Linked DNA regions of Homo sapiens: regions 1, 2, 4, 5 and 6 are each linked to region 3. Evidence: promoter capture Hi-C in 16 types of primary human blood cells and fetal thymus (Javierre and others, 2016). All regions are on one chromosome and are shown on one strand. Each heading gives the region's core, a stretch centred on a gene start or on the middle of the fragment in contact. The rest is flanking DNA. Distances are from core to core; before and after follow the strand shown.

Region 1 (3,215 bases), core at 117-2,616, 3.2 Mb before region 3:
TCGGCTCACTGCAACTCCACCTCCCGGGTTCAAGCGATTCTGGTGCCTCAGTCTCCAGAGTAGCTGGGATTACACCACGCCCAGCTAATTTTTCTATTTTTAGTAGCGACGGGGTTTCACCATGTTGGCCAGGCTGGGCTCGAACTCCTGAGCTCAGATGATCTGCTCACCTCGACCTCCCAAAGCGCTGGGATTACGGGTGTAAGCCACAGCGCCCGGCCAATACAACCTCTTTTGGTCTCTAAATCTACACTCATATAAATGCTTTTTTGATAAAGTTATATTTAACTCGAACCCATTGTTCCTTTCTTTCTTTTCTTCTCTTTTTTTCTTTGAGACAGAGTCTTGTTCTGTCACCCAGGCCGGAGCACAGTGGCGCGATCTCGGCTCACTGCAGCCTTCGCCTCCCAGGCTCACGTGATTCTGGTGCCTCAGCCTCCGGAGTAGCTGGGACTACAGGCGCGTGCCTCCACACCTAGCTAATTTTTGTTTTGCTCTGTTGGCCAGGCTTGTCTCGAACTTCTTACCTCAAATGATCCGCCCACCTCAGCCTCCCAAAGTGTGTGAGCCACGCCCCAAGCCCCATTGTTTATGTTCTGCAAAAAAAAAAAAAAACAGTCTCTGTGAATCCATAAATTTGACAAATTCCTAGGTTAAACAGGTTTCTTCACCGTAGAAGTCAGAGGTTCTAATAATAAATGTCAATTGCATATAGCTAAAATTTTTCTGAATTTATGACTTCAGTGTATACTTTTATAATCAGTGTGGGACATAATACAATTTGGAAAATATTGCTTGAATACTATTTGAAGATTGAAAGTATAAGGAACTTGGTGGCCAGGCAAGGTGGCTCATGCCCGTCATCCCAGCACTTTGGGAGGCCAAGGCGGGCAGATCACTTGAGGTCAGGAGTTTGAGACCAGCCTGGCAAAAATAGTGAAACCCCATCTCTACTAAAAATACAAAAAATTAGCCAGGTGTGGTGGCGGGCGCCTGTAATCCCAGCTACTCGGGAGGCTGAGGTGGGAGTATCACTTGAACCCAGGAGGCGGAGGTTGCAGTGAGCCGGGATCCCACCACTGCACTCCAGCCTGGGCAACAGAGAGAGACTCCATTTCAAAAAAAAAAAAGTGTAAGGAGCTTTGTATAATTCGACATTTTAAAACACTTTTCAGGAATATTCTCTATACCATACCTCTATCATTTTACCTCATAACCTTTTCATTTGTACTTATTTGAAGATTTGGGGGTAACTTTCTGCCCTAGGAATGGACAAGCGTGCTCTTGTGTAAGTAGAATAATATACCGAAAATCCCATGACTTCTGGAGGCCTAGCTCTGCCATTTTACTAGATGTGACTTTGGACAAGCTACATACCTCTTAGGGCTTTATTTTCCTCTTGTATAGAATGGGAATTAATTGTTCTCTTACAAGGATGATAGTGGGATGTGTGTACATATACATAAAGCCTTGTCCCTGCCTCCTCACCCCTACCCTAGCATGCTGGGAGCTGGAAGTTGAAATTCAAAATCTTTTGTGAGTGGCTTGTATATAATCAACTTTTGTTAGATTGTGTATGCTTTTATTTCACACAACCCTAAAATCTCATAACTTTCAAAAACAAAAGATTTATTTTAAACTTTCATTACAAGTTTTGTAGTAGTCCTGTTCCAGGCTACAGATTGGTTTCAGCTTTTTTCATCTGAAATTCAGGTTTAAGAACAACATCCCTCTGGGACATTGCTGTTCTTTGTGAGAGGGGACAAAGATCAGAGAACTGGTGCAAAATACTCAGTACCTCTTAAGGTTCTGTTCAGATATGGTACACATCACATGTGTGCAAATCAAATCACACGGTCAAGCCTAATGTCACTGGGGTGGAGAAGTATTAGCTTGAGCCATATTAAATTGTTAATTTGTTTGGTTTTGTTTTGAGACAGAGTCTTGGTCTGTTGCCCAGGCTGGAGTGCAGTGGCACAATCTCAGCTCACTGCAACCTCCGCCTCCCGGGTTATTAGTGAGTCTCCGGCCTCAGCCTCCAGAGTAGCTGGGATTACAGGCGTGCGCCATCATGCCCTAAATTGTTAATTTGTGTAGGTCAAAAAAAGGTGAATATTGGCAGTTTCATATAGTTCCTCTTGCATGAAAACATTGCAACTCACATGAAAATGGGTGGAGCTATATAGTCATCTTATGATTAGAGAAACAAATAACTGGGAATAAATAAAAAAAATTACCTCAGCAGGAGAACATCATTTATAACTTTATATTTTTTGGGAAAAAAGTATATTTTACATTCTAATAAACTCTACATATTTTATGGGACATGAATGTCTGCACATATGTACTGAAATGTGTTAATGTGCACAGACTAAATAATATATTCTGTTTTCAGTTAACAGTATTAAATTTGACTTGTTAATATTTTCATTGTAGGTATATTGAAGCAAGTCAAAGATTACATTAAACAGTGTAGCAAATGCCAGGAGAAACTAGATCGATCCCGTCCAATATCAGATGTTTCAGAAATGTTGGAAGAATTGGGACTAGACCTTGAATCTGGAGAAGAAAGTAATGAATCGGAAGATGACCTGAGCAACTTTACTTCATCTCCAACTACAGCATCCAAGCCTGCAAAAAAGAAGCCAGTATCCAAACATGAACTTGTGTTTGTAAGTGGTACTCTCCAGTCAGCTTTAAGATTTGTAACTAGTGTACTAGTATTTGCAGCCTTGGTGACTTATTTTTCTCAAACCACTAAGACTGCTTATTGAATAAGACAAAATGGCAGTGTACTGTGTTATATAAGCTGAACTGCCTCTTCATTTATCATAAATGTTCCTGTTATTTTTTCAGAATGAACTTAATAATTACCTGTTGGTTTGTTGTTAATTATCCTCCCTCCCTTCTTTTGTGATGATATATTGGTACAAGTAGACAGATTTACATTTCTGGAAGCAGTCTCTGAGTTTACGCCCCAAGGTAAAATTAATCTGGCCAGGTCTTTGTTTTTCACCTGCATCAGTTTCATACATCATCATATTTCTGATTAGTAAGAAGAGGCAGCCAGAAGTGAGATACAGATTTTCATTAGGTGAGGTAGAATGAACATGGCAGAAAATAGGATAGGACAACATATCTTTTTATTTAAATACATAGGTAACAAAGAAAATATCAAATTATTCATACCTGGTAAAAGGTAATATGTAATGTGT
Region 2 (3,208 bases), core at 667-3,166, 3.2 Mb before region 3:
CTTTGTTGAACAAAAGGACTATTCAGTGTCAAGCACAAAATTTCCACTGATTACATATCTTTGGCAGCATTTGAGAATGTGATAATTTCCCTCTTGTTCTGAAAAGTGACAAGTGTCCATTGACTTCCAAAGTTTCAACAATATAGCCATCTGTCCCTGCTGCACAAAATCCCCTGGCAAATATCAGCACTGTTTCCTAGCAGAAATAACCCTATTTTGAAAACATCACAGCAGCCAGGAAAGGTGGACAGGGAGTCTTATAAACCCTTATAACGTAGATGTCCCTCTACCACCAATCGCCTCCCAGTGGAATGATAATTACAGCTTTACAAAGGAAATTAGACCTTAATGACCCACTGACACTAAGGAAAAGTGGAAAGATCTAGAGCCAAGCATTTCATATGAATGGCAGTTTCTTCCAAGATGCTCACAGTCTAAAAGTAAGCTCACAACCCTCTCCTGTGTCTTTCCTAGGATTTCCAGCTTCCTGAATCTCACAAAATACCCTCAAATTTTACCTCATTTAAGTCTCGGATTTCATTTTCTGCCAAAGAAAGTATAGCAAGACTTCTGGGTAGGTAAGCAGGTGCCATTCTAAGAGAGGTGATGATGTTTCCATGTAAAAGCAGGGTCTTGAAAGTAAAAACAGTATGAATTACAAATGAAAAGATTACAAATAAATTGGCCTATTGTGACAACACCAAAATGGTACATATAAGAATAAAGGAATCTACTTTATTATATTTCTCATCACACACAAATCAAAGACTGTTAATGCTACAAGGGTCCTTGATGATCTTCTGGTCCAACTCTCTGTTTTCATACCAACATCCTAAGCTCATGATATTTTAAAGACTTGTCCAAAAACACATGCTTGGCATAGCAACTAGGCATGCTGTGAGATTTAACTTATGAGACACTGAGCAATTTCTAACACACTTTTTCATTTTCTTTTAAAATATCAAAATAGAGGCCATGTGTGGTGGCTCATGCCTGTAATCCCAGCATTTTGGGAGGCCAAGGAGGGAAGATTGCTTGAGCCCAGGAGTTTGAGACCGGCCTGGGCAACATAGTGAGACCTGGTCTCTACTAAAAATCAAAAAATTAGCCAGGCATGATGAGGTGCACCTGTATTTCCAGCTACTGGGGAGGCTGAGGTAGGGGGATCACTTGAGCCCAGGAGGTCGAGGCTATAGTAAGCCATGACTGCACCACTGCACTCGAGCCTGGGTGACAGCAAGACTCTGATGTCTCAAATTAAAAAAAAAAAAAAAAAAAAGTCATTAAAACAACCACATATAAAGCAAATTTTCCAAAAAAGAGAGTGATAACCTACATCCATAATTGCAACTGTATTCTCTAGGTAACTAAAAAATAAAGGGAGGTAGAATGTGTTACTTGCAGATAAAGCTGACTCACATTAAGTCAGCAACAACCAAGAATAAACCCAAAACTGAACACCCAGGATTCTGATCAGATAAATAGGCTTCTATTCCAGCAAAAAAAAAAAAAAAAATTCAATCATCTTTGGTTCATTTGAATTCTCTTAGCATCTATTAGGACAACATCTGGCTACATCAAAATGTTTAGAATAATTATTGCTAAAAATGATTTCTGCTAAAGATCTGGGAAAAAGTGAACTAAGATACTGCTTCTAGGGCTTAATGAACATATCTGATGGTAATAATATCCAATGAGGCAACAATATTTAAAATGTTCTACATGTTTTTCAAGACTGTGATTTCAACTGTTACTTATTTGACTGCATGATACATTCCCCTCCATAAAAAGTGCTACATGCTACATGTTTTTTTCTAAGTGAAATTAATTTTGACAATTAGCTAATACCTATTACTTTAAAAACAGCAATTCTGAATGTCAAAAAAAAAAAAAAAAATCCAGACTTGGGACCCAGCGCAGTGGCTCATGCCTGTAATCCCAACACTTTGGGAGGCCGAGGCGGGTGGATCACAAGGTCAGGAGTTCGAGACCAGCCTGGCCAACATGATGAAATGCCATCTCTACTAAAAATACAAAAATTAGCTGGGCGTGGTGGCATGCACCTGTAGTCCCAGCTACTCAGGAGGCTGAGGCAGGAGAATCGCTTGAACCTGGGAGGCAGAGGTTGCAGTGAGCCGAGATTGCGCCACTGCACTCCAGCCTGGGCAACAGAGCAAAACTCCGTCTCAACAAAACAAAACAAAACAAAACAAAACAAAACAAAACAAAACAAAACAAAAAAACAGACTCGGCCAGTTCGGTGGCTCATGCCTGTAATCCTAGCACTTTGAGAGACTGAGGCAGGAGGACTGCTAGAGTCCAGGAGTTTGAGACCAGTCTAGACAACATAGTAAGATCTCATCTCTGGCCAGGTGCAGTGGCTCACGCTTGTAATCCCAACACTTTGCGAGGCCAAGGCAGGAGGATCATGTGAGGTCAGGAGTTCAAAATCAGCCTGGCCAACGTGGTGAAATCCTGTCTCTACTAAAAATACAAAAAATTAGCCAGGTGTGGTGGTGGGCGCCTATAATCCCAGCTACGCGGGACGCTGAGGCAGAAGTATCACTTGAACACAGGAGGCAGAGGTTGCAGTGAGCCAAGATTGCACCACTGCAACCACTGCTTGGGTTGCAGTGAGCCAAGATTGCACCACTGCTTGGGTGACAGAGCAGAACTCTATCTAAAAAAAAAAAAGAAAAGAAAAAGATCTCATCTCTACAAACACTCAAAAAATTAGCTGGGTGTGGTGATGTACACATGCCTATGGTCCTAGCTACTTGGGAGGCTAAGGTGAGAGGATCACTTGAGCCTGGGAGGTCGAGTGAGATTGTACTACTACACTCTAGCCTGGGTGACAGAGCAAGACTCTGTCTCAAAAAAAAATAAAGACAGACTCAAATTCAGGAATGATTAATCTCAACCTCACCAAAGATTATGTACTATATAATAACTGAAGTTACTAATATTGGTTGATTGGGCATACAGGGAATTCCATCATGTTCAGAGAATGGTAAATAAAATTAACCTTAACTACAATGACCAGTTTCACATCAAATAAATGAGTTATATAACTAACAACAAAAAGTTTCAAACTTAATTTCTGGTATTCTAACATAATTCCTTTTTTTTTTTTTGAGACTGAGTCTCACTCTATTGCCCAGGCTAGAGTGCAGTGACCCAATCTCGGGTCACCACAACCTCCACCTCC
Region 3 (2,973 bases), core at 284-2,783:
TTTTTTTGTATTTTTAGTAGAGACGGGGTTTCACCGTGTTAGCCAGGATGGTCTCGATCTCCCGACCTCGTGATCTGCCGCCTCGGCCTCCCAAAGTGCTGGGATTACAGGCGTGAGCCACCATGCCCGGCGGAAAATAGGGGATTTCTAATGAAGGCCAATGGATGAAGACATTTCCTGGAGTATAAGGGCATTTATGTGTCTTACTACACATTGACAATTTGCCTGTGCCTCTCCATCACTTTCTCTAGTTGGTGCCTCTGACAAATTTTTTTTTGATTATATGCTGTATATGAAAATCCAGAGTCATGTTTGAATATATTTGGCTACTACCTTATTATGTGCTGCATATGAATATCAGTTTCACCCACTCAGGTCAAAGAAATGTAAGTACAGATAGAGAAACATATCATGCCTTTAATCTGTCAAAGTGGTAGAAATTTAATATCAACTTGCAGCTCCCATCTTTCTCCTATGCTAAATTACAAGGCATTAGGGGACAGAGTGGGGGTTTGAGAGCCCCTCTGGTCCTTGAGTCAGCTTTCTCTGTCGGTTACTGTTGAGAAATCCACCATTTGCTGGTCCCAGGCCACGTTAATAGTTCCACTCATGTTATTGTTAAGATGTCCCTGCTTCCTGTCCATGAATTTCTGTGTTAAACCTGAGGGTTCAGAATCATTGTTGCCCCTGTGCCACACATCATCTGCAATCTCCAATGCTGTCCATGACCTTATCTGCTTGAGTGATGTTCCCCAAATTTCAGTCTTTTTCCTACTATACCCACAATTTTTTATTCATTTTTTGACATATCTGGTATCCTCAGTATTATTAACTTAATAGTTTTTAAAATAAGTGAAAAGAATTTAAAAGGAACAACATTGCTGCAATAGAAAACTAGTATCACTTGTCATAAAAAGAAGGCAGCTACAAACACATTTTATGAAACCCAAATAATATCATTACATTCTTGATGGATACTGTCTGCCAGGTCACATACTTCTTAGCCTAAACTTATGCAATAAAACCAGAAGGATGCTCTGCTCCAATGGGAGGGATTCTGGGAGAGGGAAATAAAATGGGTCAACGTTTCACAAGTAGAATCCCATTTTTGTTCATTTATACTTAGATCTAGAGGCAGGGTGGTGTGATAGGGAAAGCACAGGCCTAAAAGTCAGATCTAAGTTATACAAGTCACGGTCATTGACTCGAGATGACCGGAAACAGGCCCGCTTTACTTTCTGGACCATTCTCCCTTCCTCCCTAAAATGCAAGAATCCAACAGCCTAGACTTCCCTTCTGCGTACCGGCTTGCCCTGAGGAGCTGAACTACATCTCCCACAATGCGCCGCGCGCGGCGCCAGGAATGCCTATCGCCGCCTCAGACAGCTTTCAGTCTGTCCCTCCTACAACTCCCACAAGGCCCCTCGGCCCCGGGCCGCGGCCCGGCCCGGAGTGGGGGCGGGCGGAGGCGCGGGAGTTATGGAGGGGGCGGGCTCTGCAGGGAAGTGCGTCAGAGGAGGCGCGGGGAGAGTAGGGTGCTGTGGTCTGAGCTAGAGGGTGAAGCTGGCGGAGCAGGAGGATGGGCGGTGAGTGAGCGGGACCTGCGTCGCCGGGCAGGGGTCGCGTCGCGGTTCCATGTTCCCGGCGGTTTGAAGAGGGGCCCCCTTCCCGGGCGTGGTCGGGCTGGGCGGGTTCCGAGCGGCGGATTTGTCCCAGGGCCGAGCCCTCTAGGGCGGGGCCTGGTCGGGTACCGGGGGACCCTGGCCCGGGGCCGAGCACGGCTGCCCCGCCCCAGCCCTGGCCTTCTCCGGCCCCGCCGTGAGGCCCAGGAGGTGGCTGCTGCAGGCGTCCGGCTTGGACGAACCGCCGTTCCCAGTGCTGGGACCCTTTAAGGTCATTTGAGAGCACCAGGATGAAGGGGGGATTTTTAAAAAATCAAAATACAAATCCAACTTTTTGAGTTTTCGTTGTCATTGCTCTTATCTTTCCTGAGTCACTTCCCATTTTCCAAACTCAGCAACCCCAGTTTGCGAGTCTGTTTTCATGAACCTTTGTAAGGTGTTTGGTGCGGTCACGGTGTATACTTGCCGTGTAGTATTTGACTCAGCGCGATCTGCCTTGAGTCATTTTACCGCGGCCATTTACTACTGCCGTTGAGCCCTGTCCACGCCTTGGGAGTGTTGATATGTTGAGAGTTTTCTGTCTGGCTGAGGAGGGATCATTTAGTTTTTGCGGACGTATGTTGCACTGAGGATTTAGGGAGAGAGCAAGATTTCTGTTGAGGAGGTTCAGAAGTATAAGGAATCGGGAGAGTAGATAGGAGTGAAGCATTTGGCAGCGTAAAGAAGCTTGGCTTAGCTTTAATGGATTAGGGAGAGATTGCTATCTAGCATTATTACATGTTATTGTTCTCTTTGCTATTTTATACACCTAGAACAACCTTTCCCTCGGGGTTAACAAACATCTTCAACTCTGTTTTCTGTATGGCTCCTGACTCTTACCTTTGTTTTAGGAGGCTTCCCTCTTCAGAGGAAACTGGGAGAAGCCAATTTCCACTGCTTCTTTTTCCTGTGCCTTTTTAACACTCAAACCCAGAACACTTAATCCTCTGCAGCTCGTGCAAAAATTCAGTCTGTAATTTAAAATGTGTGCACGGTACACTGCTGACCATGGGCATGTCTATTGTTTGTATCTGTAATGTGTATGTCCATTTCAGTGTTGTCTGTTTTAGTATGCAGGTGATAGACTAGAGAACAAGACCTCTGTCTCCGTAGCATCCTGGGTATGTGAGCATTCAATAAGTACTTTTATGAGAATGAGTTTTGTTTTAAGCTTAATTAAAAACATGCTTGCTTTCTAAAAAAAATTCTTAATGGTTATATGTACGAAGGGATGGGGAATTGGGTAAAGGGTGCATTTGGAATAATTCAAAATAATCTTTCTTATTTGTCCGTAAACTCTAACTTATCTTCT
Region 4 (3,343 bases), core at 193-2,692, 4.5 Mb after region 3:
AACCTTGAGAGAGGCAGCTCTTACTCCTATTTTAGAGGTTAACTGAGGCTTTTAGAGATTTTGGCAACTTACCTGAGGTCACATTGCTAGTACGCAGAAGTATCTGATTCAAAATCAGACTGACTTTAAAGTCTAACAGAAGTGATTCCCAACGTGTGAGACCCTGGTACTACAGCACAGAGCTACAAAAGGGGGCAAGAAAGAGAATTTTACCCCAACCCTCACTTAGTGCAAGTGGCCATGACCTCCCTGAAACCCTCTTCTGTCTAACAATGAAATCAGCTTGCCACATCCTGCCTATAGAAGCAGCTGCAACAGACCAACTCTTGAAGGGACTGCTAAGGCTGCTCAGGCTGGTGCTTCCTAGCCCTGAGAAAGCAAAGCTGTGTATTAATATGATTCTTACAGTTCCCCTTGCACACACCTGCCACTGACCTCCATTCTCCTCCCCACAACACACACACATACAACCCCTCCTGTGCCTGCACTGGGTGGGTTGCTAACCTGGGGCTGGAGGGAAAGTGGCTTCCGAATCCAAAGCTTTTATGGATGGGCAAGTAGCTTAGCAGGCAGTAGAGGGAATGTATGTTAGATGACTCTAGAAAACAGCGGCCAGGTGCCACACTCCAGGCCTTTTCCCAAGATTCACAGTTAGTCTGAAGCGGCTCCATTTACTGGTCTTCCAGGTGAGAAGAAGTGCAAGTACCTCAGTAGCCAGCAGAACTGGAGACATACAAGGTCAGTGACCTGCAAATTTGCTAGTGCACCACTGATATCATTTTGAAAAAAAACACATTTTAAGTTGACATTAAAATCTCACCATATGTTTAAAGGATGCAATTTCCAGCATACTGTAAAAATTGACATTTTAAAATACAAATTATACTGCCTTTAGTATGTGCCCAGTGGAAACTAAATATCATAATGATTTTGATACCCATCATCATCCATTTAAAAATTCATAGACTGACTCATCTTTAACAGGTGGAAATTTTATGCTGCTCGTTTTCCTCTTTTATTTACATTCTACTTCATATAACTTCATCTTAATATATTTTCATGCTTGAAATCTTTTTATCACCCTATCATGCTTCTCTAGCCCCCACATATACACATGTGTATGTACTAAATTTGTTTTTCCTGTGGTCTTAAATCTCTAAGTGTTAAAATGGTAACTTCTGGATTCAGGGATCAATAATATTATTAGTACAAAACCGATCAAAACAACTTATAAAAGTAAAAATTGGTAAGAAATGGATACTTAATGAAATGAGCTTTTGTTTCCATATATCCATAAATGAATATTACTTCTTACTATAATAAAATCAGTCAGGATTCAACATCATTTTTATGCCTATTTTGTGTTTTTTATAAAAGCTGAGAAAAACCTTCAGTTAAATAAGTGGATGAGAATTAAATATATTTTGTTATAGCAATGTTTCTTACTTTGAATTCTTTTGGAGTTATATCCCCAAATCACTTAGCAACCTATCATCAAAAATGTCTTAAATGAATTGATAGCTGACATCTCAATCAAGGCTCCTTTACTTTTGTTGAAAGCAAAACTTGGAAACCACCTGACTTGTCAGAGAATCTGTTAGTCATTTGCTTTCTCACACTGACACTCCAATAGTTTCTGGCATATGGAGGTTTTGAATACCTGGAGGAACATAGCATAGAAGCCAGAATGGTGCAAGTGTGCCTTTCTTTTTGTGAAAAGGGTGAAGGGAAATTGGAGAAAGGCAGGTTGGGAAAGGAGAATATGTGCCCCCTTATGTACAGAGGGGCAGAGTAATTTTCTGAAAGAGAATACATGAAAGTTGAGGATGTGAAAACTGACTGCGGTCACTTGCCTGAGCCTACATACCCCCTTGAAAAGTCTTTCTATTTCTCACTCATTGTTGCTCCTCCCTCCAACATGCTAAGTCTGTTTTGTCTTCTTTTTTTTAGAGACAAGGTCTCACTCTGTCACCCAGGCTGGCGTACAGCTGTGCGATCATGGCTCAGTGAAGCCTCGACCTCCTGGACTCAAGCGATCCTCCTACCTCAGTCTCCCAAGTAGTTGCGCCTACAGGCACGCACCACCACACCCAGCTAATTGCTTATTTTTTCTAGAGATGAGGTCTTGCTATATTGCCCATGCTGGTCTTGAACTCTTGTCCTCAAGCAATCTTCCCGCCCTCAAGCAAATCTCCTGCCTTGGCCTCCCAAAGTGCTGGAATTACAGGTGTGAGCCATCGTATATTATCTTCTTGTCAACATTCATTCATTCTCTAAAAATACACCGTCTGTCAACTATAGGCTAGGCACATCTATTTACTGATAATGATATAAAATAAGCTTAAATTCCTAAGAAACAAAAGAAAAATAAATTCCTAAGAAACAAAAGAAAAATTCCTAAGAAACAAAAGAAAAATATTAAAACTGACCAAAAAAAAATTAAGTAAAACTAGACAGATGGTACACAAGAATAACTGAATTTTGAGAAACAGTTAATGAAGCTAAACTAATATATCACACTGTGTGTCACCCTGCCTGCTTACCCATTTCCCTAACTCATTTATATGGGAGCCTTGACTTATTTTTCTCCTTGGCTAAGTGCCTGGGGCCTAAATCCTGGAGTAAATGAATAAAATTGGAGTTCTGATTCAAGGCTCTCTGAACTACTTACTATTTTAACAAAATTAAAGCATTAAAAAATTAAAAGCTAGTTAAGTTAAAATTTTGCAAAACTGTATAATGTATCATTTCGATAATGTTTATTATTTGATAGTATAATTTTCATTCAACTTTTCTGTGACTTTATTCTTTTTTCCTACTACTCTACTCTCCACCCTACCTTCCGTCCTAGTGACGAAGATGAAAAATATCATTTAATCTAGAAATTGTTAAACACAATTAATATAACCCTGTAGATTACAGAACCTATTTAAATTTCCATAGCTAAAAAAGAGAAATTCCTTGATTTAGTGCTATTATTATCCACTAGAGGGTGCTCATTCAACTCTTTTAAAAGTTAGAAATGAAAAACAAATCAATTTATGGAAATGCACCAAAGTATGTTTTTGAGTCATTTTATTTTTACTCCTCAGAGATGCTAACGAAGAGCTGATGGCTTCCTATTCTATTTTGGCAATGGATCTTCCTTGTATCTCACAGAAGGGCAATTTATGTCCAGATTTGTTATTCACTGTACCTCAGATAGGAAATCCTTTGCGTTTCTGGTGGAACATCAAAAGGCTAAAAATCCTGAACATAAGAGTCCTTCATACTACGGGATCTGAGCATACATTTGGAAGGATGCAACTCTGGACCCTTCACAGCAGCACAGATGGTATAGGAA
Region 5 (3,166 bases), core at 65-2,564, 4.5 Mb after region 3:
CTGAAAATACCACTTCAGTAATTCTGATGGAGTCTAAGGACAAACTTTTCTGTCTTTAAAAAAAAAAAAATTCATGAATTTTCACTAACGATTATCAAGAAATATTTCAATACTGACCTAAATAGAATTCTGGGGGAAAAAAGCAAATAGCACATTTATATTTAAGTACCTTTTAAACAAAAATATTTAAACTGGTTTGATATAATTTCAAATTATATGGTAATGCTTTTCTAAAGAGTAAACTTCTGAGTTTTTTCCTAGTAAGTGAAACCAAGTTCTAGACTAGGTAAACACAGAGCTGTCCAAAAAGGAATTGGATGTTCTTAACAAACAAGTTTATTGAACTACATTTATCTATAATTCTTTTGCATTCTAGAAATATTTTACTGAAGGGACCTAGACTGATGGTCTGTAATCAGAACTTCTCCTTGTTTTATAAGGCAGTTCTCTACTTCTCCTAAATATCCTTCCTCTAGTTTTTGCATCCTAGAATTCTAATGCCATAAACTATCTAGACTATAGCGTATGTTATATTCAAAGAAAACTGTTCTCTTAATTCAATAAAAATGTTAGTAACTTTCTACTTAGTCGAACTTTATTAGGTTTACTGATTTGATCTCTGATTTTATAAACTGTGTTGATCTTTACTTCACTTTAATGTTCAGCAGCTGGTTGTCTTATTAGGAGTAGAGAGAAAAAATTATGTGCCATTATCATTGAGTATATTGAGCATATACAGGAAACTACAGCTTTTAACACTTAAGTTATAAATTCTAATGTCTCATAGTTAAATTATTTTAAAACATTTCCTTTTTATTATAACTCCTTGTATAAATATATCATGGATAATAAACACAAGCTATGATTCTTTTTACCTCTGTATTCTAAGGTAAACACCAAATTAAATGATATAGATGTAAAGCATACTTAAGAATAAAAAATTAAATAAAATGAAAAAAGACGTATAATGAAAAAGGATAGCTGTGGATTTGACAAGCTTCTAAAACTAAAACATAAGTTTGTTGAAATTATAAGGCTAAAGAAAAGTGAATGTGACATGTACAGATGATATCTGAAAACCAATCCTTTTGCATTACCATTATGATGTGTTTCACCAAGAGGCTCAAGTTTTGGAAGTCTAGTGACTTTAGGGGTTCCCCAGCCAACTAAAGAAAAAGAAAAACATTTAAAAAACACTGTTAAACAAGGTTTCTTTAGGTCTGTTGAGAGGATCCCTCCCTGGAAAGGAAGCATATGTAACATTCAATGTCAATTCAAATATATTGAATGACAGTATGGAAAGCCAGAAACCCATTTTAAATGGCTTCTATATTTTAAAATGTAATTATAGGCTGCTAACATCTGCTTTAACTTTTCAGTAGCTTTTAATAAAAACTATAAGCACCTTCACCACTATCAAAAACAAACTCATGCTATCATTCTAACTCTAGGCAGAAACTAAATATTTTCTTAATAAATGGAATACTGGAAATGAGTCTATAAGAGATTCTTAAAATGTTACCAAATAATTTCTAAAGCCTTGTAGCAGGGCTATAAGGGCACTATACACATATTTATCTAGTCATTACATATTTACTGACCACCTATAGTAGGTGAGGTGCTAAGCTTAGTGCTGAAAAGTTACTCAAAATTATTGTGCAAGTTAAGTCCCAGTGTTTTATATGCATTACTCCATTTAATCCTCGTAACAACTTAGGACATGGGTATGTATATTGAAAATGTATTAGAAAAAATTAATACATCTTGGTTTCAAACATTAACTTTCAGGATGAAAGGTCCAATTTTTTTTTTTTTTTTTTTTTCCCGAGATGGAGTCTCACCCTGTCACCCAGGCTGGAGTGCAATGGAGTGATCTTGGCTCACTGCAACTTCTCCATCCCAGGTTCAAGCGATTCTCCTGCCCCAGCCTCCTGAGTAGCTGGGATTACAGGCATGTGCTACTACGCCCAGCTAATTTTTTTTTTTTTTTTTTGTATCTTTAGTAGAGACGGGGTTTCACCAAGTTGGCCAGGTTGATCTCGAACTCTTCACCTGGTTATCTGCCCGCCTCGGCCTCACAAAGTGCTGGGATTACAGGTGTCAGCCACCATGCCGAGCCGGTTCAATGTTTTAAAAACTCATGTTAGCCATCCATCGTGAAACTTAAATTAACATGTGGGTACTGATATTTCAAATAGAACTTGAACATATTCTAGGAAATACTGGGTAAAATTTTCTTAATAGTTTTTACTTATTTTTTTCTTTATAAAACATTTTTTTATTCAAAAAAGCAATGGACATTTGTGTTAGCAAATTTTGTCCAAATCAGAGTAAAAGATTCTTCTTCACAAGTATACAAGATAATGAATATACAGAATAAAAATGACAAGATTCCTTTTTTCTTTTTTTTTTTCTCTGTTGTTTAAAGCAATATTTCTAAATTCAGTATCAGTATCAATTTACTCACCAGGAGGAGGGGGTGGGGGTGGCGTTGGACTCTCAGGAGCACAGTCATCTATATTAAGTGGTTCTACCCGGTGGTTCCTTTTCATTCTTAGTTTCTTAGTTTTCTTTTTACCATTAGCTACAAGAATATAAACATGAAACTTCATGTCTTTATGAAAAAGTGCACTTTTATAATAGAAAACAAAGAATACAACAAGAATACTGATATTATTAACAAAAAACATCTTGACTATTTAACTTTGGAAATTGTTACAATAACCAAATGTGTACTTGCATTTACTAAGAATATATTTTTTAAGTGATGGCTTATTGAATGAATGAATGAGCAATGAATATGATAAAAAGAGCCAAAATTCTATATTTTAATTTCTGAGAGGTTTTTCAGAATACAAAAAAATGTCATATGACACAAATATAATTGTCTAATTGCAAGAGTTTCCATGAACTTCATAATAATCTGGGAAAAGAAGCTATTCATTATTGTGTCACTCAGTATATTTGATTTTTCTCAGTGGGATATGTAGAATGATTCCAGGTATAAATAGCCCAAATATAATCCTTTGAAATGTGACATAAAAGGCCCTAAACAAATCTAAACATGTTACTTATTTAAAATAACCCCTACAAGGCTATGCATGGCAGCTCACACCTGTAATCTCAGCACTCTGGGAGGCTGAAGTAGGAGGAATGCATGAGCCCA
Region 6 (3,393 bases), core at 354-2,853, 3.1 Mb before region 3:
AGTGGATTTATAATGACACTCAAGGTACATTTTGACAGCACATTAAACACGTCTGCTACCCTCGGTCAAGACAGTTAACGAGATGGCCTTAAAATCAACACATGATTCTTTAGGCTTTTCCTCAAACTACGTCTAAAATTTTTTGCTTTTCCTCAAACTACTTTTAAACTTTTATGTAATTTTATCCCACAATTTCCAATACAATTTTTTTGGGAAAAAAAATTCCCTAGTGAGAAAGTAGTAGATGGTTTAAATTTAAATTGTTCTTTCATAAGGTATTTTACTAGTTATAAAAAAAAAAAAAGACAGGGGGTGGGGAGGGAAGAGAGAGATGGAGTTCCAGCTTAACTAACAGAATTGTACGTGTTTTTTAAAAAGGAAATCCTGGGTCCAAAGTAATTAACATTACACTTAATCTTTTCAATAATTTTTGTTCCCAAGGCAATTAACATGAAACATTATGTTAGTAGGTCTACTAGTGGCCTTCATATGCTATTAATCGTTTCTATTTTCTCATATTAAATAATTTCGGGAATGATAACTAAGGTGGTCAGAATAGAGAATAATGTTTAAAATGTTCTAAAAACATTTTAAACAGCTCGCACGTGTTAAGTCACTTGTCTTGTTATGTGCAAAGAGGGAGCTGGAGAGATTACGTTTCTTTTCCTTCACGCACAAGACCCGAATTTAGGGAGTGGAATGGACAGAATAAGGATAGCTGTAACCTGAGTTTAACGTCGTAACAAAATACAGGAAGAGTCACGCTAGACTATTTAGTCGCCTAAGTATCTGGCAAGCGGTCAGCTGGCAACAGCCTAAGGGAGATACTTCAAAGAAAAGCAACCAAACCTTAGCCCTAGACCCCGCAGCTTAAACCAGAGGGCAGGCAAAGGCATTCCTCTTCCCCTCCATCACCTCGGCCCATCCTGTCACAGGGTCAATATTAAACTTGGAAGTAAAGGAAAGAGAGCAGGCCGGAGTTGTCCACCTCCTCAGTGAAAAGGGAGCAGCAAGCGTAATTAACTCCTGCGTGTAACTGAGAGGCCGGCACCGTCAGAAACTCAGCCTGCGGCCAGTTCCCGCGGCAACTACTCGGTGGCTCGCACTGTGTGTATGTTATGTCTCATGAGCGTCTCCGGTGTGTGTGTTTTGTGTGATGTGCGTCTCCGGTGTGGCGGTAGCGGCTCCTGCACCGCCGCTCCTGGTCCCACCCCGAGTTCGGTCTCCCTTTCTGGCGCCCATCTCCCTTCTCCTCGGAATCAGGGCCTCCGCTGGGGCCAGGAGGTGACGAACAGTGGCCGGCTCTCCCCAGGCAAGGAGGCGATGTAGGCCCGGAGCCCAGAGGGCCGCATCGGGCGTGCCCGAGGCAGGTCTGGGCCCAACACCTGGCCGGGTGAGGTCCAGATCCGCCCATTCTCGCCCCACCCCACTCCCCCCACCCTGGGAGCTCAAAGAAAGGCCCGGAGCATCCCACGCTGCCCACGACGCTGGGGTTGTGTTCACCTCCGGCGGCTCCAGCTCGCTGCGACTTTTCAGGCTTCTCGTCTCCCGCCTTCCCGTCCGCCATTTTCCCCGCCGCGGCCTCCCCTGCAGCCACGCCAAGGACGTCACGACCCCGCCCAACAACCATCGAGTTTTTGGGGCCAGCCGGCGTGGTGGCAGCCTAGAGCGGTCCCGAGGAATGAAAAGAGGCCGCCTTCGGAAGCGGAAGTGGATGTGATGTCATCGAGTAGCCGCCTCGGAAGGAAGAGCTGGGAAGGTTGGGCGGTCTAAGAGTGCTGGCTAGGCACTTTATTAGAGGGCAGTCAGGTCTTCATGGTCTAGCGACAGGTCCGGAGAAGTGAGGGGAAATGGAGCATCTCCCTGGAAACGCTGGGATCTTAGAAGGTTTCTGCATACCCAGATGTGGTTGCAGCTGAGGCTGAGAGTGTCTTCCGTTCCGGCCTTGCTGGATAACGCATGCCTGCCAACTCTATGTAAACAAAAAGCCTGCATTCTTTTTCCCTAAAGGGGAAATCAGTGTTTATCTAGCGCCCCCTAGCTTCAGACGCCTTTCATACACTCGTTTAATCACGGCGATTGTCCAAATATAGAATTCTCCTCTCAATTACCTGTAAGAGTTGAGGTCAGAGAGAGTAATTTGTCTAAGTCACGTAGCCAACTGTAAAGTTACTTTTTGTATAGTCTGCTTCTACCAAGTTGAGAAACTACTATGTCAAGTTAAGACTGCAGTAATTTCTGCCTTAATAAGAAACCTTTAGTGGATTCCTACAGTCTGCATTCTGAAGTCCGTGAGTTACATTAGGCCCTAGCCTACCTTTTCGGCTTCATCTTCCCCCTTTCTCAGTATTTATCCAGCCCTCCTAGCCAAATGGGGTCTATTACTTGCTTAGGGAACTGGAGTTTCTGGGTTTGTCTTACCATATATAGTTAGAGAAAGTCTTAGGAGTCAGAACTTGGATTTGAATCTGTTTTGCCCTTTCCTGCTTGAGTAACCTTGAGACTTGCTTACTGCCTACAGAGCTACCTTTTCTTCTCTATAAAAGAGCAATAATAATAGTACCTCCTCAAAGAGTGGTAATAGGGATCAAATGAGATCATCTTTGTATACCATTATTTGGTCACTTCATACTTCCCTCAGTTTGTGTGTGTGTGTGTGTGTGTGTGTGTTTTAAGTGTTGTCTCTCTGAATGGCTCAAAAGTTCCTTGACAACAGAGACCAGTTTTTAAAAACTGTGTACTGTGCGTTTCATATATGAATATAAAAAGTGTTCAATATTTGCGGATGGATTACTTCTCGGGCTTCAAGTCCAGGGAGTGGAGAAAGAATGAAGAAATTATCAAAGTGTGTTTCCCATGACAGAAGCAGGGCAGTGTGGTGGTGATTTTGTGATCTAGGTTGAAGTCCCTGATCCATCATTTATCATATATGTAAAAGTAACCAGCAAACTATCTTACAGGTACTTAATTCATGTTTGTTTCATTTTCCTTGTGATCTTTTCAAGGTAATCATTGAGACTCTCGTTTCTATCATTTTAAAAATGGAGATATACACGAAGATTTTTATTTGAGATTATGTATTTACAGATGCTTGTAATTTTTTATGGGGGGTGGAATGGAGTCTCTCATTCTGTCACCCAGGCTGGAGTGCAATGGCATGGTCTTGGCTCACTGCAACCTCCGCCTCCTGGGTTCAAGCGATTCTCCTGCCTCAGCCTCTCGAGTAGCTGGGACAACAGGCGCGTGCCACCACACCCGGCTAATGTTTGTATTTTTAGTAGAGACGGGGTTTCACTATGTTGGCCAGGCTGGTCTCGAACTCCTGACTTTGTGATCCGCCCACCTTAGCCTCCCTAAGTGCTGGGATTACAGGCGTGAGCCACCGTGCCCGGC

The links. The method cuts DNA at HindIII sites, captures the fragments that hold promoters and counts their contacts. A CHiCAGO score of 5 or more calls a contact.
Region 1: a contact is called between a fragment that was not itself captured here and the fragment with the promoter of CLDND1 in region 3, in 3 of 17 cell types (fetal thymus, naive B cells and total CD4 T cells). The highest score is 10.9, in fetal thymus.
Region 2: a contact is called between a fragment that was not itself captured here and the fragment with the promoter of CLDND1 in region 3, in 1 of 17 cell types (total CD8 T cells). The highest score is 5.2, in total CD8 T cells.
Region 4: a fragment that was not itself captured here is called in contact with the fragment with the promoter of CLDND1 in region 3 in 2 of 17 cell types (naive B cells and total B cells); the score reaches 6.6 in naive B cells.
Region 5: a contact is called between a fragment that was not itself captured here and the fragment with the promoter of CLDND1 in region 3, in 1 of 17 cell types (total B cells). The highest score is 8.0, in total B cells.
Region 6: a contact is called between the fragment with the promoter of PCNP here and the fragment with the promoter of CLDND1 in region 3, in 5 of 17 cell types (total B cells, naive CD8 T cells, fetal thymus and 2 more). The highest score is 17.2, in total B cells.

What each region holds. Positions count from the first base shown.
Region 1 is chr3:101,671,435-101,674,649 of GRCh38, reverse strand. ZBTB11 (zinc finger and BTB domain containing 11) reads left to right here. Exons shown (of 11, transcript NM_014415.4): 2 at 2,437-2,672. Among named protein-coding and RNA genes, the nearest start is that of ZBTB11-AS1, 3.4 kb to the left of the region's middle. RefSeq lists an enhancer at 274-774. The HindIII fragment of the contact is 3,726 bases long and covers 1-3,215 here.
Region 2 is chr3:101,729,264-101,732,471 of GRCh38, reverse strand. It overlaps CEP97 (centrosomal protein 97), which reads right to left. Exons shown (of 11, transcript NM_024548.4): 5 at 519-632. Among named protein-coding and RNA genes, the nearest start is that of CEP97, 6.3 kb to the right of the region's middle. The HindIII fragment of the contact is 5,493 bases long and covers 1-3,208 here.
Region 3 is chr3:98,521,462-98,524,434 of GRCh38, reverse strand. CLDND1 (claudin domain containing 1) reads left to right here and starts at 1,533. Exons shown (of 5, transcript NM_001040181.2): 1 at 1,533-1,586. It overlaps CLDND1-AS1 (CLDND1 antisense RNA 1), which reads right to left and starts at 1,865. Exons shown (of 2, transcript NR_198998.1): 1 at 1,602-1,865. RefSeq lists an enhancer at 1-84 and silencers at 1,287-1,926, 1,977-2,086. The HindIII fragment of the contact is 2,905 bases long and covers 1-2,350 here.
Region 4 is chr3:94,069,067-94,072,409 of GRCh38, reverse strand. All of the region lies in intron 2 of NSUN3 (NOP2/Sun RNA methyltransferase 3), which reads right to left. Among named protein-coding and RNA genes, the nearest start is that of NSUN3, 7.7 kb to the right of the region's middle. The HindIII fragment of the contact is 1,800 bases long and covers 543-2,342 here.
Region 5 is chr3:94,048,824-94,051,989 of GRCh38, reverse strand. It overlaps ARL13B (ARF like GTPase 13B), which reads right to left. Exons shown (of 10, transcript NM_001174150.2): 8 at 2,468-2,584; 9 at 1,098-1,166. Among named protein-coding and RNA genes, the nearest start is that of DHFR2, 13 kb to the left of the region's middle. The HindIII fragment of the contact is 629 bases long and covers 1,000-1,628 here.
Region 6 is chr3:101,572,390-101,575,782 of GRCh38, reverse strand. It overlaps PCNP (PEST proteolytic signal containing nuclear protein), which reads right to left and starts at 1,603. Exons shown (of 5, transcript NM_020357.3): 1 at 1,504-1,603. The coding sequence starts at 1,567. RefSeq lists enhancers at 1,084-1,243, 1,264-1,423, 1,504-1,633, 1,734-2,003, 1,447-2,392. The HindIII fragment of the contact is 5,212 bases long and covers 1-3,393 here.